Linked DNA regions of Homo sapiens: region 2 is linked to region 1. The links are contacts of gene promoters, found by promoter capture Hi-C in blood cells and fetal thymus (Javierre and others, 2016). All regions are on one chromosome and are shown on one strand. The core of a region is centred on a gene start or on the middle of the fragment in contact, and the rest is flanking DNA. Distances in the headings are between cores, read along the strand shown.

Region 1 (5,829 bases), core at 561-3,060:
ACCCCAATTAAAAGGCACAGAGTGGCAAGTTGCATAAAGAAATAAGACCCAACTGTCTTCGATGTTCAAGAGACCAATCTCATATGCAATTACACCAATAGGCTCAAAGTAAAGGGATGAAGAAAAATCTATCAAGCAAATGGAAAACAAAAAGAGCAGGGGTTGCTATTCTTATTTCAGACAAAACAGACTCCAAACCAATAATGATCAAAAAGGATAAAGATGGGCATTACATAATGATAAAAGTTTCAATTCAACGAGAAGACTTAATTATACTAAATATGTATGCACCCAATACTAGAGGACCCTAGATTCATAAAACAAGTTCAAAGAGACCTATGAAGAGACTTAGATAACCACACAATAATAGTTGGAGTCTTCAACACTCCACTGACAATATTAGACAGATCATTGAGGCAAAAAACTAACGAAGATATTCAGGACCTAACTTGACATTTGACCAGATGGACCTAACAGACATCTACAGAACACTCCACCCAACAATAACAGAATATACATTCATCTCATCTGCACATGGCACATACTCTAAAATTGACTCCTTGCTCTGCCATAAAGCAATTCTCAACAAATAAAAAAAAAACCCAAATCATACCAATGCTGTCAGACCACAATGCTGTAAAAATAGAAATCAATACAAAGAATATCTCTCAAAGCTATACAATTACATGAAAATTAATTAATCTGCTTCTGAATGATTTTGGGGTAAACAGTGAATTTAAGGCAGAAATAAATTATTTGAAATTAATGAAAACAAAGATACAACCTACCAGAATCTTTGAGACACAACTAGAGCAGTGTTAAGAGGAATGTTAATAGCACTAAACGACTACAGTAGAAAGTTAGAAATATCTCAAATTAACAATCTAACATTACACCTTGAGGAACTAGAAAAACAAAAGTGAACCAAGCACAAAGCTAGCTGAGACAAGAAATAACCAAAATCAGACTTGAAGTGAATAAAGTGGAGACAAGAAAAACCATACAAAAGATCAATGAAACCAATGGTTCTCTGGAAAAATACATAAGATGGATATACTTCTAGTTAGACTAAAAAAGAACAAAAAAAGAGAAGATCCAAATAAACACAATAAAAAAATGGCAAAAGGGACATTGCTATCAACTCCACAGAAATACAAAAAATCCTGAGAGACTATTATGAACACCACTATGCACACTAACTAAGAAACCTAGAAGAAATGGATAAATTCCTGGAAACATACAACCTACCAAAAGTGAACCAGGAAGAAATTGAAACCTGGAACAGACTAATAACAAGTTCCAAAATTGGGTCAGCATTAAAAAGCCTACCAAGCAGAAAAAGCCCTAGACCAGACAGAGTCATAGTCAGTTCTGCCATACATAGAAAGAAGAGCTGGTACCAATTCTACTAAACTATTCCAAAAAAAATGGGGAGCAGGGAATCTTTCCTAATACATTCTATGAGGCCAGCATCATTCTGATTTTAAAAACCTGGCAGAGACACAACAAAAAAAGAAAAATGCAGGACAATATTCCTGATGAACATGGATGAAAAAATCTTCAACAAAATACTAGCAAACCAAATCCAGCAGCACATTAAAAAGCGAACCCACCACTGTCAATTAGGCTTTATTCCTGGAATGCAAGGTTGATTCAGCATATGCTAATAATAAATTGATTCCTCACACAAACGGGACTCAGAACAAAAACCAGATGATCTTCTCAATGGGCACAGAAAAGGCTTTTGATAAAATTCAATATTTCATGTTAAAATATCTCAACAAACTGGGCCTCAAAGGAACATACCTCAAAATAATAAAAGCCATCTATGAAAAACCCACAGCCAACATCATACTGAATGTGAAAAAGCTGGAAACATTTCACTTGAGAACCAAAAACAGACAAGGATGCCCACTCTCAACAACTCTTATTCAACATAGTACTGGAAGTCCTAGCCAGAGAAATCAGGCAAAGGGGAAAAAAAAAGTTATCCAATAGGAAGAGAGGAAGTCAAACTCTCTCTCTTCATAGACAATAGAATTCTGTAGTTAGAAAACTCCATAATTTCTGCCCAAAGTCTCATCCATCTGATAAACATCAGCAAAGTTTCAGGATAAAAAAGTAAATGTACAAAAATAAGTAGCATTTCTACACACCAATAATGTCCAAGCTGAAAGTCAAACCGAGAACACAATCCTATTCACAATAGCTATTGTGAATAACCAAGAATAAAATACCTAGGTTTACAGCCAATCAGGGAGGTGAAGCATCTCTACAATGAGAATTATAAAACACTGCTGAAAGAAATCTGAGACTGCACAAACAAATGGAAAATTATTTCATGCATATGGATAGGAAGAATCAATGTTGTTAAAATAGCCATACTGCCCAAATTGATTTACATATTCAATGCTATTCCTATCAAATTATCGATGACTTTTTAAAAATAGAATTAGTAAAAACTATTCTAACATCCACATGGAACAACAACAACAAAAAAACCCCGAGTAGCCAAGGCACTCCTAAGCAAAAAGAACAAAGCCAGAGACATCACATGACTTGAGTTTAAACTATATTACAAGACTACAATAACCAAAATAGCATGGTGCTGGTCAAAAAACAAAACAAAACAAAACAGACACATGAACAAATGGAAAAGTTTAAAGAAAGCAGAAATAATACCACACACCTACAACTATCTGATCTTTGGTAAAGCTAACAAAAAAAGCAATGGAGAAAGAATGCATTATTCAATAAATGGTGCTGGGTTAACTGGCTAGCTATATGCAGAAGATTGAAACTGGACCCCTTCTTCTCACTATATACAAAAATCAACTCAAGATGAGTTAAAGATGTAAATGTAAAATTTAAAACTATAAAACCACCAAAAGAAAACCTAGGAAATACCATTCTGGACATAGGCACTGGCAAAGATTTCCTGATGAAAACTTCAAAAGCCACTGCAACCGAACAAAAAGTTAACAAGAGGGACCTAATTCAACTAAAGAGTTCATGCACAACAAAGGAAACTATAAACAGAGTAAACAGACAACCTACAGAATGGGAGAAAATATCTGCAAACTATGCATCTGAAAAAAGTCTAATATCCAGAATCTATAAGGAAGTTAAAGAAATTAAGAACAAAGCAAACAACCCCATTAAAAAATGGGCAATGGACATTAACAGACATTTATCCAAGAAGACATACACATGGCCAGCAAGCATATGAAAAAATGCTCAACACCAAAACAGAGATATAGATCAATGGAACAGAACAGAGCCCTCAGAAATAATGCCACATATCTACAACCATCTGATCTTTGACAAACCTGACAAAAACAAGCAATGGGGAAAGGATTCCCTATTTCATAAATGGTGCTGGGAAAACTGGCTGGCCATATGTAGAAAGCTGAAACTGGATCCCTTCCTTACACCTTATACAAAAATGAATTCAAGATGGATTAAAGACTTAGATGTTAGACCTAAAACCATAAAAACCCTAGAAGAAAACCTAGGCAATATCATTCAGGACATAGGCATGGGCAAGGACTTCATGTCTAAAACACCAAAAGCAATGGCAACAAAAGCCAAAATTGACAAATGGGATTTAATTAAACTAAAGAGCTTCTGCACAGCAAAAGAAACTACCATCAGAGTGAACAGGCAACCTACAAAATGGGAGAAAATTTTTGCAACCTACTCATCTGACAAAGGGCTAATATCCAGAATCTACAATGAACTCAAACAAATTCACAAGAAAAAAACAACCCCATCAAAAAGTGGGTGAAGGATATGAACAGACACTTCTCAAAAGAAGACATTTATGCAGCCAAACAACACGTGAAAAAATGCTCATCATCACTGGCCATCAGAGAAATGCAAATCAAAACCACAATGAGATACCATCTCACACCAGTTAGAATGGCGATCATTAAAAAGTCAGGAAACAACAGATGCTGGAGAGGATGTGGAGAAATAGGAACACTTTTACCCTGTTGGTGGGACTGTAAACTAGTTCAACCATTGTGGAAGTCAGTGTGGCGATTCCTCAGAGATCTAGAACTAGAAATACCATTTGACCCAGCCATCCCATTACTGGGTATATACCCAAAGGATTATAAATCATGCTGCTATAAAGACACATGGACACATATGTTTATTGCGGCACTATTCACAATAGCAAAGACTTGGAACCAACCCAAATGTCCAACAACGATAGACTGGATTGAGAAGATGTGGCACATATACACCATGGAATACTATGCAGCCATAAAAAATGAAGAGTCATGTCCTTTATAGGGACATGGATGAAACTGGAAACCATCATTCTCAGCAAACTATCGCAAGGACAAAAACCAAACACCACATGTTCTCACTCATAGGTGGGAATTGAACAATAAGAACACATGGACACAGGAACAGGAACATCACACTCCGGGGACTGTTGTGGGGTGGGGGGAGGGGGGAGGGATAGCATTAGGAGATATACCTAATGCTAAATGATGAGTTAATGGGTGCAGAACACCAACATGGCACATGTATACATATGTAACAAACCTGCACATTGTGCACATGCACCCTAAAACTTAAAGTATAATAATAATAATAAAAAAAACTGAAAAAAAAAAGAAAAATGCAGGTAGAAAGCACATGAGATATCATCTCATACCAGTCAGAATGGCTGTTACTAAAAAGTAAAAAAATAACAGATGCTGGCAAGGTTGCCAAGAAAAGGGAATTCTTAAACACTGCTGGTGGGCTTGTAAATTAGTTCAGCCACTGTGGAAAGCAGTTTGGAGAGTTCTCAAAGAACTTAAAACAGAACTATCATTTGACCCACCAATCCCATTACTGCTTATATACCCAAAGGAAAATAAATCATTCTACCATAAAGACACATGAATGTGCATGTTCATCGGTGCACTATTTCCAATACCAAAGACATGGAATCAACCTAAATGTTCATCAGTGGTGGACTGGATAATGAAAATGTTGTACATATATGCCTTAGAATACTACACAGCCATAAAATGAATGAAATAATGTTCTTTGCAGCACTGTGGATGCAGCTGGAGGTCAATATTCTAAGGGAATTAATGCAGGACTAGAAAACCAAATATCACATGTTCTTACTTATGAGTGGGAACTAAATATTGAGTACACATGGACACAAAGGGACCAATAGACACCAGGACCTACTTGAGGGTGGAGGATGGGAAGAGGGTAAAGATTGAAAAACTACCTATTGGGTACTATGCTCATTATCTGGGTGATGAAATAATCTGTACAACAAATTCCCATGACACAATTTACCCATGTAACAAACCTATTTGTGTACCCTCTGGACCTAAAATAAAAGTTGGAAAGAAAAAAAAAAAAAGAAAGTAACAGTCTTGTCTGAGTTCTACTCTCCTGAGTTCAGAGGCCAAAATGACTTTGAAAAAAGCACCAAGGTGGGGAATTGAGAATCTCTGAATTCTGTCACTAGCCATGTCAGCAAGAGCATGTTTAAGAATGTTGTGGGAAGAAACTAAGTGGCTGGATGTTCAATCCCAACTCCCCTTGTTATTTTCAGTTTTAGCAGAGCATGTGTTCCCTATGAGAAGAAAGCTCCTGGTATAAGGAAAATCCTTTTTTCTGAACATCAAGAGAGTGTTGCAAGAACCTACCCATTTGCCTGAGAGCTGAGCCCTGCCCCTGTACCTGCTATGGCCTTCTCTCCAGCAGTGAGGGCTTTGTCTGACTGCAGGATGGATTCCTCTATAACCACCTGTGACTGCAGGAAGCTCTGGAGGACCTCGTCTGCCTGAAGAACCAAGAAGGAGCAAA
Region 2 (5,654 bases), core at 2,016-4,515, 230 kb after region 1:
ATGCCCTATGGTTCTTATGTTGTACAGTGGATCTCTAGAATTTACTTATCTTTATGACTGAAACCTTATACCCATTGAATATACTCCCCATTTCCCTCCCCCCGAACTCTTGGCAATCAGCATTCTATTCTCTGCTTTTATGAGTCTATTTTAGATTCCACATATAAGTGAGGTCATGCAATTTTTGTCCTCTGTAACTGGCTTTATTTTTTTAGCATAATGTCCTTCAGGTTTATCCATGTTGTTTCAAATGACAGAACACACTTGTTTTTTAAAGTTGAATAATTCTCTCTCTCTCACAGACACACACACACATACACCAAATTTTCTTTATCTATTTATCTGTTGATGGACATTTGTGTTTTCTCATATCTTGGCCATTGTGAATAATGCTACAGTGAACATGGGAGTGCAGATATTTCTTTAAGATTCTGATTTTTATTCTTTTGAATATATTCCTAGTAGTGGTATTGCTGGATCATGTAGTAGGTAATTTTTTGGGAAACCTCCATACTGTTTTGCAGCGTTGCCTCACCATTTCACATTCTCAACAGTGTAAAAGGATTCCGGTTTCTCTATATCCTTATCAATGCTCATCTATTTTTTTGTAATAGCCATCCTAACAGGTAGGAGGTGATATATCACTATTGTTTTGATTTGCATTTCTCTGATTATTAGTAATGTTGAGAACCTTTTCAATATATTTTCAAAATATTGTATTTTATTTCTGAGCTCTCTATTCTGTTTCATTCATCTATGTGTCTATTTTTATGCCAGTTCCATACTGTCTTAATTACTGTAGATTTGTTATACATTTTGAAATCAGTAAGTGTGATGCCTCCAGCTTTGTTCTTCATTCTCAGGTCACTTTGACTATTCTGGGTGTTTTGTGCTAAGCTCCTGGCTTGACTTCATGGACCATCCAATATATGCAACCCCATAATTAACACATTTTCTAGTTTCCCTATCTAAAGCTTTAGACATCTTGGGGCTTTGCTGATCCTGGAGAGACTGACCCTCCCTGGGCTTGCCAGTTCTTAGAGATACTACAGGATTCTCCTGCAAGTGTGCCTTTCATATGCAAACCAACCAACCTGGAGCCCACACCCCGCCACTTTCTCTGTTGGCTCTCATTCTCTGGGCCACTATCCATCTGCCCTACTCACCGAAAGGCCAAATATCAAAAGTAAGAACAATCCCTCTGCCCCAGAGCCCACTGAAATTATTCCAGCTAGCCAGTCCTAAACCTGCTTGCCCTGCTAGTTCTAGTTCACAGTTGCTCTCGACATTTACTCCAGTTCTTTGCCTCCTTGACTGCAATTGGAACCACCTGGAGGTGGGGCGAGGCTTTAAAAAAACACTCACACTCACCCTCAACTCTAGACTTACTAAATCAGAGTCTCTGGTGATGGATCAGAGCTCAAGTTTTTAAGGAGAACCTCAATTGATGTTTATGTGCAGCAAGTATTAAGAATCACTGGTTTAGTCTTATAACATCTAAAGGAGGCCTCCTACTAGACTCTTTACTTTAGACAAGCTCTGGTCTTTGACTTTTGGCCTCTTCATAAATGCCTTCCAAACTGAAGGTCACATTCCCTTGGTTGGCAAATGCTATTAGAAAAAAAACAGCTTCAATACTCCACTTAACTCTTTGGGCGTTCACCTTCCCTTGGAATTTGGTCTTTAAGATCATTCATGACAAATTAGTCAATTTTTAATATTGCTTTTGAAAATATTAAACATTTTTGAATCCAGAATTTTCCTTTTTTTTTGAGATGGAGTCTCGCTCTGTCGCCCAGGCTGGAGTGCAGTGGCACAATCTCGGCTCACTGCAAGCTCTGCCTCCCAGGTTCACACCATTCTCCTGCCTCAGTCTCCTGAGGAGCTGGGACTACAGGTGCCCGCCACCACACCCGGCTAATTTTTTTGTATTTCTAGTAGAGAGAGACAGGGTTTCCCCCTGTTAGCCAGGATGGTCTTGATCTCCTGACCTCGTGATCCGCCCGCCTCGGCCTCCCAAAGTGCTGGGATTACAGGAGTGAGCCACCGCACCTGGCCCAGAATTTTACATTTTTAACACAAGTCTTTGTCTGAATAGAGTATTCAGATTAGTCTACCACACTCCCCAAATCCTCAGCCTAAGTTATTGCCAAAACTCATGTCTGCTCATTCTGCCACTTGCTTCTGTTCTCAAATCCATTTAGCAGTGCAGCCATGGTAGACAGTCCCAGCATGCTGCTATGTCCTCTGTAGAGAGTCTTTCTCCTTTTCTCACTCAGATGTTTCTCCAAGCTGTGAAAGGGTGTCTATTTTGCCCAAGGGCAGCTTGTGAATTCAAAATAGTTAAAGTCCCTGGGGATAAGACTCAACCAATGGAAACTGTGGGTTGTTGGATAAATAGTCCACATCAAGGGTCCCAAACCCCCAGAGCATGGTCTGTTAGAAACTGGGCCACACAGGAGGTGAGTAGGGAGAGAGCACTAAGGCCTGAGACCTGCCTCCTGTCAGATCAGCAGCAGCATTAGATTCTCATAGGAGCTTGTACACTGTTATGCACTGCACATTCCACCTTCTATGTCCATGTATGCAGATTTTTTAGCTTCCACTTATGAGTAAGAATGTGGTATTTGACTTTCGGTTTCTGAGTTGTTTCACCTAAGATAATGAACTCCAGTTCCATCCATGTTGCTGTAAAAGACATGGTTCATTCTTTTTTTAAACCAGTAATATCTTTAGCTCTCTCTCTTTCTCTCTCTCTCTTCTGTGTGTGTGTGTGCATGTGTGAACACATTTAAAATATCAAAAGTTCTTCACTAACAAAAGACCCCAGAACTCAAGAATTCCCACTAAGAGAAAAATGCTTAAAATATTCTTGGTTTCTAAGGCTTTGCTTATGTGACTACTGTAGATTTCCTGTTTTTCTTGTGTGCCTAGGAAACTAAAGCCACCTGGGAACGGTATCAAGAAGAAAGCCTGTGAAGCCTTCTAAGATGGGAAAGACAAAAGAAAGCTGGCAGGATTGTGCTTGCTAAGGTGTGACTGTGCAGTATCTGTGGCTTTTTCTGACCTCCTCCCACCCCTGCACCCAACACCCATCCTCAAACTCACATCGGATGATTCAGGCATGGCTCTGCTAACACTTTATTAAAAGCATGGATTAATTTTACTTCCAAGTTTATTTTTACTGCACCATCCCATTTGTGGAAACAACTAGCTTACTCAGCTTTTTTTTCCTTTTATAAAGGAAAGAACAGAAAAGTAAAAGGAGGAAAGAAAACAAGAGGTGAGTGAGGCAACTGAAAACTGTTCTTGGACCTGCGGTGCTATAGAGCAGGTATGTTCACTTTCTTTTAAATGCAACTTAGTTCCTAACTCAAGACTTGGTTTCTGATTCAGAGTGGTAACTGAGGAATGGGCAGGAAGGGCAGGGTGCCTGCTGCCTGGCCTGCAGGAGTCTGTGGCTGGCTTTAGTTCTGGGGAAGCTCAGCTTCTCCACTTGAACCAGTGACAGCCGGGCACGCCGCGTCCCCCTGGATGTGCTGTTCCCTGATCATCAACTCAGGACAGCAGTGAGTGGCCTGGAATGAGCCCTGGTGGGCGCCTGCCTGGCTATCTCTCTCAGGTCCTGCGGCAAGCCCCAGAATGCAGAGAACAAGGAGCTTCCAGGCAATTATACCGGAAGGGAGAGTTTCTTGTCTATCTTTCTAGTGGTCACACTTAGGAAAGCTTCAGAATAAGAGCTCTATAAATCTCTATGTAGAAATAAACTTAGGCCCCACATCACTGGTCTTTATTACTTAAAAATAATTATATAGTCCAAACTCTGTGTGTGCGTGTGTGTGTGTGTGTGTGTATGTGTGTGTGGGGAGGGGGTGGGGGAGGAGGGGGGTGTTAGTTTCCCATAGGAACATCAGAGTCTCTTGTAGCTCTTGCTAAACAGATGGATACTTAGGCCTGGGAATCTGGGTTTGAACAATCCTCTCAGTTGATTCTTTAAAAAAAAAAAAGATGAAGAATAGACACTATGTTTAAAATAAAAAAGATTTTTTTAAAAACCACCATGTCCCATGGTGGTTTGCTGCACCTATCAATCCGTCATCTAGGTTTTAAGCCCCGCATGCATTAGGTATTTGTCCTAATGCTCTCCCTCCCCTTGCCCTCCACCCACTGACAGGCCCCAGTGTGTGAGTTTCCCACCCCCACCCCCAGCGCCAACCCCCCGCCGCCCGTGTCCACATGTTCTCATTGTTCAACTCCCACTTACCAGTTAGAACACGCAGTTTTTGGTTTTCTGTTCCTGTGTTAGTTTGCTGAGAATGGGATCTAATTAAAGAGCTTCTGCACAGCAAAAGAAACTATCATCAGAGTGATCAGGTGATTCTTATGTACATCAGAGTGTGAAAACCAGTCCTGAATAGGATTGAACAGCTGTATTTCATTTAGTAGAAGTTAAAAGGTCTGTGGTTCCCACACAGCTAAGAAACCAGAGACCTGGTTTATATAAAGTTGTTTGCAGGAGCAGCCACATCTTCCTAGAGCTGCCTTTATTGTTCACTTTAAAGAAGGGACTGTACAGTTGCAGTCACTGTAATGTGATGAACACGTTACACATCACATTACAATGCATTTCACTGTGGAAATCAGGACCTCGTGTTTGATCTCCATTTTCCTTACTCCCCTCAGTGAAGAATCAGACAAGAGCAGGTTGTACAGCAACAGCGTGCTTGAACTTTACAGTTTTGCTTCCGTGAAAAATTTATTTGTAGTTTTTGTTTCTTAGTAACTTATAGTTTGTATATTTTGTTGAAATATATAATCTAATGGACCAATTGTTATTGTAATTATTGTAGTAACCTCCATTTAATTCAACATTTACTGAAATCCTATTGTGTGGTGCATGCTATGCAAAGATATAAACTTATAATGTCTCGTTTTATTATCAAAACACCCTCCAGGTTGGATGTATGATTTAACTCACAGACCCCTATAATTAACAGGCTCAGCTAGCTTGACCTCCTTGGTCAAGGCCACATAAGTAGTGAATGATAGAGCTGGTATTTTTGGTGGCATTAGATGCATCTTGAGTGTCTGACATATCAATTCTAAACTGAGTATTTGAGGCATTTGAAGACAATATTATGTTTACATTTTTCTAATTATAAGGAAATACAGGTATCATAGAAAACCATTTTAATATAATGGCAATAAAAATGTGCCAGGAGACCTACAGAATAATTGTACTTTCAATACTAAATTTATGGAATTAAACTTCACCTCTAAAAATATTACAATTAAATCCCATATGCCTTTCACCTCGATTCACCCAAAAGTGACATTGACTTTATCTCTCAAAAAGAAATCTCTCTAACTTATCTATTAATATGTATGTACATAATTTCTCTCTCTCTCTAGATATCTATAATTTATCTCCATAAATAATATGCAATATTATATGTATTGTTATTCTTATTCTTTTTCTTATTCTTGTCTGTGGGAGTAAATTGCAGAGAACCTGACCCTTCTAGGCTACGTATTTCAGCCTGTACTTGAATTCTTTAGATTCTGGACATTCTCCTGCTTCCCTTTTGGAAAGATAGCCTGTATTCTCTAGAGTTTTCTCATCCCATAGTGGATCCTTTCCCTTCTCCCTTCTA

The links. The method cuts DNA at HindIII sites, captures the fragments that hold promoters and counts their contacts. A CHiCAGO score of 5 or more calls a contact.
Region 2: a contact is called between the fragment with the promoter of GBP6 here and a fragment that was not itself captured in region 1, in 9 of 17 cell types (total CD4 T cells, activated CD4 T cells, naive CD8 T cells and 6 more). The highest score is 11.8, in total CD4 T cells.

Annotation. Positions count from the first base shown.
Region 1 is chr1:89,135,843-89,141,671 of GRCh38, forward strand. GBP7 (guanylate binding protein 7) reads right to left here. Exons shown (of 11, transcript NM_207398.3): 9 at 5,704-5,806. The region is part of intron 1 of LOC105378842 (a long non-coding RNA gene); the gene reads left to right. Among named protein-coding and RNA genes, the nearest start is that of GBP2, 13 kb to the left of the region's middle. The HindIII fragment of the contact is 8,826 bases long and covers 1-5,829 here.
Region 2 is chr1:89,360,794-89,366,447 of GRCh38, forward strand. It overlaps GBP6 (guanylate binding protein family member 6), which reads left to right and starts at 3,266. Exons shown (of 11, transcript NM_198460.3): 1 at 3,266-3,334. The HindIII fragment of the contact is 2,752 bases long and covers 973-3,724 here.